Linked DNA regions of Homo sapiens: region 1 is linked to region 2. Evidence: promoter capture Hi-C in human tissues and cell types (Jung and others, 2019). All regions are on one chromosome and are shown on one strand. Each heading gives the region's core, a stretch centred on a gene start or on the middle of the fragment in contact. The rest is flanking DNA. Distances are from core to core; before and after follow the strand shown. Region 1 overlaps ANKRD11 (ankyrin repeat domain containing 11). Region 2 holds the start of RPL13 (ribosomal protein L13).

Region 1 (4,068 bases), core at 273-2,772, 260 kb after region 2:
GGCAGCAGGGGCGGAGCACAGGCCCCCACATGCCACCTCCTTTGCACCCGAGGCTCAGGCCCATGGGGCCGATTGGAGAGCTTCACTCTTGGGTCCCACACACGTGGAGATGCACCCGGTGCATGTCCAGCCCTGGGCGAGGTATGGGGCTGCTCACCTGTGGGTCTTCTGACAGCTGGACACGGGAGGGAGACAGTGGTTCCCCTCAGGGCCACAAAGGCACAGGAAGAAACTCCATTGCTTGTAGTAAAAACCAAAGGGAGCCCTAAAAGTGAGCAGGAGGCAGGGAGGTCTTCCCAAGCACAGGCGGGGTCTGAGGCTGCAGAGCAGGAATGTGTGTGCTGTGTGCCTGTGCCAGAGTGTGTGCCCAAGTGTGTATGCCTGTGTGTATGTGTGCCCATGTGCACATGCCCGTGTATCTGTGTGCATGCCCTCATGTGTGTGCCTGTATGTATGCCCGTGTGTGTGCCCGTGTGTGTATGTACTTGTATGTACCCATGTATGTGTGTGCCCGTGTATGTGCTTGTGTGTACCCATGTGTGTGCCTGTATGTGTGCCTGTGTATGCGTGCCCGTCTATGCCCGTGTATGTGTGCCCATGTGTGCCTGAGTATGTGTATGCTTTTGTGTGCCTGTGTGTGCCTGTATATATGTGCGCTCATGTGTGTATGCCCATGTGTGCGTTTGCATGTGTGTGCATGTGCATGCCTGTGTATGCGCCCGTGTGTGTGTGCATGCCTGTGTGTGCCCATGTGTACGTGTGTGCCTGTGTGCCCATGTGTGCATGCCTGTGTGCCCGTGTGCAAGCCCATGTGTGTTCATGTGCACACGCTCCTGGTGGGGTCAGCGCCTTCTGCAGTGACACCTTCCCAGTGGATTCTGTCTTGAGCTGCTTGCAGGGAGCCCAGAGGCCTCTGCGCTGGCCGTGCTTGCTCTTTGGTGATTCTTGTGTCCAGAGGCCTCCTTGTCCTCCTGGTCATCCAGCTTCTCTACAGCCCTGCTGGGGAAGGTTGGAGGCAGTAGAGCACTAAGCTGGCCACAAAGCCTGGAGTGAACCGGGAGAGTGCTGAGTCAGGCCCTCGGCTCTGTCCCTGGCTTCCTGAGACTTCTTGAATGCAGCCATAGCACAAGGCGTAGAGGCTGTGCCAGGATGCGGGCTTGAGAGCAGATGGGGGAAGTGGTCCAGGTGAGAAGAGCTCGTGATACGAAGGAGATTGTTGAAGAGGAACGGCAGCAGGCACAGCCAGTAAAGAGGATCCACACCCCAGCTTTTGTCAGCACAGCTCAGCAAGCTTCAGCCTTTATGATTGTGTGGCTGCCGCAGGCCTGTGGCCCCTCCTGTCCTATGTGGGGTGCTCCAGGGATGTGCTCACAGTAGCCAGGTGGAGACTCTGCTGAGTGAAAGGCCAGCAGAGAGGGCTGGTTTTCCCAGATGGGAAGTGAGGGGCAGGTGCAGTGCCAGGCACATGGCTCCTGTCTCTGGGCCAGCACATCTGGGGACAGGAAGGCTGCAGGGACACCAGCACAGGCCCAGGAGGACTCCTCTTCCCAGCAGCGGACAGCTCCGAGGAAGAACACTGGGAGACACGGGGAAGTGAGTGGACAGAATGTGTGGATGGGTTGTGTAAGGGACCTCAGCCCCCAGAAGGGAGGGCCTGGGTGACTCCCTGGAGCTCCCAGCGGTGCTGTGTACTCTCGGGCTTTAGGCCTAGAGAAAGTCAGTCCAGGCCTGAAACCCTGTGTTTGCCGTCTTTGGTCCCCATGCTGGTTTTGGTTGTAGAAGGCCGTCATGTTGATACGTAGCTGTTAGCTCTTTGCACAGTGGCCATGCGGGAGTTGGCCTCAGACCTTTGAGGTGTTTCTGTGATGTCTCTGGAGGTGTTGCTGAAAGGGTTAATGAGACAAGCATCTGCTTCTGCTTCCTGGGAGAATGATCCCACTTGGTAAGGTGGCGTTCCCAGGGCTACCTGGTGCCCACCCCATCTGGCTGCTCAGGTCTCTTTGTGGTGGCCGTTTCATCATGGTGCAGAGAAGCTCTCACCCAGGGCCCTGTTGTGTTGTCAGAAGCTTCCGGGGTCTGTCTGTTGATGGTTAGCGCCTGCGTGGTGCCAGCCGTGCTGGCCCACTGAGGCCATTCTCGCTCTCTGTGGGTCTCTGGGATATTTTCTGCCACAGCCCTGGGTGCTCCTGGAACTGCGTGTTGAACACCATGTCCTTACTCTGTGAGGGGCAGGCCTAGGTGAGGACAGGGTAGGTGAGAATCCCTGTGAGGTGGGAAAACAGTAAAGAACATTTTGAAAATAGAATTTTCCAGGCAAGGATTGTAACAAAAAGACCTAAGAAACGTAGTATTTGTCCTCCTGTGTTTATCACCCTTTCGGGGCCAATTTTAATAACTTCTTGTTTAATGTTGCAAAACTAGATTTCCTAGGAAGATTGTTCTGATGTATGAGTGTGGAGCGTTGCTTATCCTAGAAGCTTGCATTTTAACCAGGACCCTCTTAAAGTAGCAAGTCCACAGCCAGGCGCGGTGGCTCACGGCTGTAATCCCAGTACTTTGGGAGGCCGAGGCGGGCAGATCACAAGGTCAGGAGTTCGAGACCAGCCTGACCAACATGAAGAAACCCTGTCGCTACTAAAAATACAAAAATTAGCCAGGTGTGGCGGCGGGTGCCTGTAATCCCAGCTACTCGGGAGGCTGAGGCAGGAGAATTGCGTGAACCCAATAGGTGGAGGTTGCAGTGAGCCAAGATTGCGCCATTGCACTCCAGCCTGGCAACAGAGCAAGACTCCGTCTCTAAATAAATAAATAGTAGCGAGTCCAACTCCAGTGCGTTCAGCCCCACCCTGGGCCGGGAGGCTGCTGGGCGCTGTGGCTCTCACACACGCCGCGTCCCCTCCTTCCCCCAGAGGAGCCGTTCTTGCTCAGAAATGAGTGGGGTGGAGGGAGAGGCGCACACCAGCAGGGATGAGAAGAGAAACATTGGTGCAGGGTTAACTGACACGTGACAGACAAGAGACTCTTCTCTGGTCCCCAGCAGTCAGGCCTCTCTGGAGGGGTGTGGGTGCCCCTTGCTATGGTGGGAGGGATGCAGGGTCACCACCGTGCCGGATGCCTTGGCTGTGTCCAAGTGGCAGAGGCTGGCACGTCTCCCTCAGAGACCTCCATGTTGCTGTGGGGATGGCTTCCCGCCTCCCAGATGCAGGGTTGAGTCGGCCCTGCCCGCGGTCCAGTGCCATGGAGATGTGGCCTCTGCGGTGCTTAGTCAGGGCTGGGGGCCGCCTGCCAAGAACAATGTGATTCTGTCTGTTGTGAATCAGCCCAGTTTAAAGCAGTCCCCGAGGCTGTGCATCCGCGTGGTCCCTGCACAGCAGCCTGGAGGCTGTCCAGGCAGACGTGAGCATGTGACAGCATCACCTCTGTGTCTTCCAGAGCGCTGGGCAAGAGCCCGTCCTAGGACCAGGCCTCTGTAAGGGCTGTGGGTGCAGCAAGGAGTGGGAAGGCACCTGCCATGTCCCGGCCCCAAGACAGCTCTGCCCACCGAGCCCTCTCAGACCAGCTTGCCCTGGGACTTCTAGCCCATCTTGCCTGCCCTGCTCTGCCTGCCCTGTCTGCCCGGGGCCTCTTGTATCTGCTTTTGAAGTCTGTCCTCTACCACCTCAAGGGTGGTCTCAGTTTAAAAAGCCTTATCACTGAAAGCATTCATATTAAATTATATGATATCTGGGATTTGCTTCAAATGATACTACTTTGTCTACTTTTTTATATGTGTAAGGTTTCCCAAAACTTAAAAAATCTAAAAGTAGCCAGGCACAGTGGCTCACACCCTTCACCCTTCCAGCACTTTGGCGGGAGGATCCCTTGAGGCTAGGAGGTCAAGGCTGCAGTGAGCCGTGATTGCGCCACTGCCCTCCAGCCTGGGCGACAGAGTGAGACCCTGTCCATAAAAAATAAAATAGATAAATAAATAATCAGTCAACCAGCGAATGTTTTTGAGGTTGCTGTGCATCATTGCCTGGCCTCCCTGGGGTTCTGGGGAGCCTCCTGCCCCGCTGTTTCTCCTGCGCC
Region 2 (4,368 bases), core at 1-2,500:
GTCCATTAAGGTTATCTCTGCGGAAACGCACAGGTGAACCTTAGCAGTCCCGCTTAGCTCATCACCCACAATGTTTTGGTTCTTCTCACCCCAGCAAGACCCAGGGACCGGTGTCACTGATAAAGGAGCCAAGCCTCACTGTCCCCGCGCACCAGGACGGCCAGAGAGCCGTGTACTCACAGAACTGTCTCCCTTCTTGGGGGCCGAGGGCTTCCTGGGGAAGAGGATGAGTTTGGAGCGGTACTCCTTCAGCCGCTGCACGTTGGCCTGCAGGGACTCCGTGGACTTGTTCCGCCTCCTCGGATCCACAGAAATGCCGATGGTCCGGGCCACCTTCTTGTGAATGCCGGCCACCTGCCCCAGAACCAGAGAGAGATGGAGACAGGCCCGGGCTTTCTCCAGCCCCGAGGCCTGGATGAAAAGCCTCAGCAATCAGATGGAAAAGGGTTCAAATGTGCTTTCATCAAGGCCGTACAGCGATTCCGGAGAATGTCATCACGCGACTGAGGCCAACAGAGGGGACTTCGGGGCCTTCCTGACACCGCAGCGCTGCCAGTACTCACCCTGAGCTCCTCCAGGCTGAAGCCGCGGCCGGCGCGCACCTTCGTGTGGTACCGAACCGTGGGGCAGCGCACGATGGGCCGGATGGGACCCGACGCGGGGCGCGGGGCGATGCGGCGCGCCTTGGCTTGCCGGGCCTTACGTCTGGTGGAGAGAAGCGCAGCGGCGGTCACCCTTGCCTAAGGCCGCCAGGCCAGCGCTCCGCGACGGTTGCAGACAGCGCCCCCCGCCCTGGCATCGGCCACCCGCAAGCCAAGGCGCAGCCGCGGGCACGAGCCCCAGGGGCAGCCCCGAGCGCAGGGCTCACCTGCGGATCTTACGGGCCGGCTGGTTGAACCACGTGGCCACGCGCCGCTGCCAGTCCTTGTGGAAGTGGGGCTTCAAGACCATGCCATTCCGGCTGGGCGCCATGGCTGCCTACGGCCCTGCGGCTGCGGACGAGAGGGGAGCGAGTGAGAGGCCGGACCCCGGGCGCGCGCACCCCCCCGGGCCTCCGCCCCGAACCCTCCAGACTGGGCCGTCCGGCCGCGCCTAGAGCCCGGGCAGCGGCCGAACGCTGTCTGCGAAGAAGAAGGGGCCCATCCACTCCCGCGTTGGCTGAAGCGCCAGGCCGATGGCGCTGGATGATGCCCAAAGGCCAGGACCCAGTCTCCCTCACCTCCTGCGCAGGAAAACAGCCGAGCGGAAAGGAAGCGGCCCCGCAATGCACTCTGGGATGATAGCAGGGCCGGCCAACCAGAAGCGCCGGGCGCTCTGACCAATCAGAGCCCCGAAAGGAGGAACTGACGTCGCCGCGGCTCTCCCGGCAGCCCTAGGGCCGCCGTCGCAGACATGTTGCCGCTGAGAATGCGGCGGGGCGGCCGTGATTCCTGGGCCCTGAGTAACCGACGGCCGGACTTGCTTGACGTCCGCCGTTACTGCCCCGGCGCTTCAGCCGCTGCGCGGGCCGCGGCCGAGTCCTGTCTTGCGGGCTAACGCGCGCGAGTCCGGTATCTGGGCCGACGGCGAACGGGCGACGCCCGAGGAATTCTGTTTGTTCACATTTGTGAGACACGTTTGCAGCGCAAAGGCAGAAAAACTTCAGTGACATCCGAGTTTGCGCAACCTAAGGCCTTCGTCCTTGTCGTTCCAGCGTTTATTCTCCTCCCATCCATTTAGAACATTTGTGGTTTTTTTTTTTGTTTTTTTTTTTTGGAGACGGAGTCTCGCTCCGTCGCCCAGGCTGGAGTGCAATGGCGCGATCTCGGCTCACTGCAGCCTCCGCGTCCCAGGTTCAAGCAATTCTGCCTCAGCCTCCCGAGTAGCTGGGATTACAGGCGCCCGCCGCCACACCCTGCTAATTTTTGGTATTTTAGTAGACGGAGTTACTGTTGGCCTCTGTCGCTTTCCCTTGGCCCAGGATTAGGTGACTTCTCTAAGGTCAGGGGTACCCGACTGAAAATGTCACACTCTGACCTGCTGTGCCTACTGCCTTCCTTCACAAAGAAAAGCATCAACAAAAAGCCATCTCTTCTCTAGTATAAGTCTGTGAAGGCACCATCCATCTTACTGCTACCTGGAAACCTTTAAATCCCAATAACCCTCTTTCTTCCCTACCCTCACCCAATCACCACGCTTCCTCCTGGTAAAACTTATTATTATTTTTTTTTTTTGAGACGGAGTCTCCCTCTGTTGCCCAGGCTGGAGTTCAGTGGTGCGATCTCTGTTCACTGCAAGTTCTGCCTCCCGGGTTCACGCCATTCTCCTGCCTCTGCCTCCCAAGTAGCTGGGACTACAGGCGCCCACCATCACGCCCAGCTGATTTTTTGTATTTTTAGTACAGACGGGGTTTCACTGTGTTAGCCAGGATGGTCTCGATCTCCTGACCTCGCGATCCGCCCGCCTGGGCCTCCCAAAGTGCTGGGATTACAGGCGTGAGCCACCGTGCCTGGCCAACGTAATCCACATTTTAAGAATTTCACAGTTCCAGCACTTTGGGAGGCTGAGGTGGGCGGATCAGCCGAGGTCAAGAGTTTGAGATCACCCTGGCTAAGATGGTGAAACCCTGTCTCTACTAAAAATACAAAAAAGCTGGGCGTGGTGGCGCATGCCTGTAATCCTAGCTACTTAGGAGGCTGAGTCACCAGAATTGCTTGAACTGGGGAGGCAGAGGTTGCAGTGAGCCAAGATCACATTACTGCACTCTAGCCTGGGCAACAGAGCAAGACTCAGTCTCAAAAAGAAAAAAAAGTATTTCACAGGCCAGGCACGGTGGCTCATGCCTGTAAATCCCAGCACTTTGGGAGGCCGAGGCGGGTGGATCACCTGAGGTCAGGAGTTGGAGACCGGCCTAGCCAACATGGCAAAATCCCGCCTCTACTAAAAATACAAAAATTAGCCATGTGTGGTTGTGTACACCTGTAATCCTAGCTACTCCAGAGAGTAGGACAGGGGAATCACTTGAACCCAGGAGGCAGAGGTTACAGTGAGTCGAGACTGCACCACTGCACTCCAGCCTGGGTGACAGAGTTAAGCCTCCGTCTCAAAAATGAAAAATTTAAGAGCTGGGCGTGCTGGCTCACACCTGTAATCCCAGCATTTTGGGAGCCCAAGGCAGGCAGATCACGAGGTCAGGAGATCGAGACCATCCTGGCTAACATGGTGAAACCCCGACTCTACTAAAAATACAAAAAATTAGCCGGGCGTGGTGGCAGGCGCCTGTGGTCCCACCTACTTGGGAGGCTGAGGCAGGAGAATGGCGTGAACCCGGGAGGCGGAGGTTGCACTGACCCAAGATCGTGCCACTGCACTCCAGCCTGGACTACAGAGCAAGATTCCATCTCCAAAAACAAATAATAATTAAAAAATAATAAATTAATTTCACAAAAGGCTTGGCACAGTGGCTCACACCTGTAATCCCAACACATTGGGAGGCCAAGGCAGGAGGATCACTTGAACTCAGAAATTCGAGTCTAGCCCTGTCTCTACAAAAAGTACAAAAATTAGTCGGGCATAATGGTGCGTGCCTGCGGTCCCAGCTACTTGGGAGGCTGAGTCAGGAGGATTGCTTGAGCCCAGAAGATCGAGGCTGCAGTGAGCCGAGATGGCGCCACTGCACTCTAGCCTGGGCGACAGAGCAAGACTCTGCCAAAAACCAACACAACAGCAAAAAAAAAACAATTACCGAGGACACTACCCTTGGCTACACCAGCTAAAACCCTCCCATCGATGTGCTGGTCTTTGGATTTGGAGAACTGGGGCAAAGGTCAAGGCATCTCTCAGAGATGCCACCCTCGGGTGTGTGACTGCACCTGTGGCTGCCTCCTTACTGCTCCGCCAGCGTTTCAGTGTTGCAGCAACAAGAGGACAATCCACTCACGTCACTGCACCACAGGGAGGGCAGAAGCAAGGGGGCCGGAGTGGGAGCCGCATGCCCCGGAACTCAGGGCCAGGGTGTCCTGGGTCGTCTTCTATCCCTACGGGGTCCAGGCCCCAGATTCCTACAGAAGGAGTTTTTCACTTAGTCCCTGCATTACTCAAATTATAAACTGAAACCACAAGACCCTGTGATCCAGGGCAAGCCCACCAGCTCCTCTGCATTAGAGCTGGCCAGACAATGCAAATGTAGATTTTCCAACTACACAGTTTATTAGTAAAGTATCTCAACAATTCTCAGAGCAGTAAAAACCAAGGCATCCCCAACACTGCATGCGTGACTAGACCAGCAAGAAGTCCTCAACTTGCACCAGTCCACATGGCAGCAGGGGGCAGTGGTGAGTCCTCCGGAGCCCAGTGCCTGGGCCTGACTGGCCCCATTGATGAGTGAGC

The links. Contacts are between HindIII fragments. The study calls those that stand out against the background at their distance.
Region 1: a fragment that was not itself captured here is called in contact with the fragment with the promoter of RPL13 in region 2 in 17 of the 25 tissues and cell types used here (H1 embryonic stem cells, IMR-90 fibroblasts, adrenal gland and 14 more).

What each region holds. Positions count from the first base shown.
Region 1 is chr16:89,301,001-89,305,068 of GRCh38, reverse strand. The region is part of intron 4 of ANKRD11 (ankyrin repeat domain containing 11); the gene reads left to right. Among named protein-coding and RNA genes, the nearest start is that of ZNF778, 85 kb to the right of the region's middle. The HindIII fragment of the contact is 5,718 bases long and covers 1-4,068 here.
Region 2 is chr16:89,557,564-89,561,931 of GRCh38, reverse strand. RPL13 (ribosomal protein L13) reads right to left here and starts at 1,250. Exons shown (of 6, transcript NM_000977.4): 1 at 1,220-1,250; 2 at 869-992; 3 at 564-705; 4 at 181-354. The coding sequence starts at 972. It overlaps SNORD68 (small nucleolar RNA, C/D box 68), which reads right to left and starts at 502; the gene lies at 431-502. SPG7 (SPG7 matrix AAA peptidase subunit, paraplegin) reads right to left here. Exons shown (of 17, transcript NM_003119.4): 17 at 4,166-4,368. RefSeq lists silencers at 668-717, 778-1,047, 2,589-2,808 and an enhancer at 1,158-1,267. The HindIII fragment of the contact is 11,945 bases long and covers 1-4,368 here.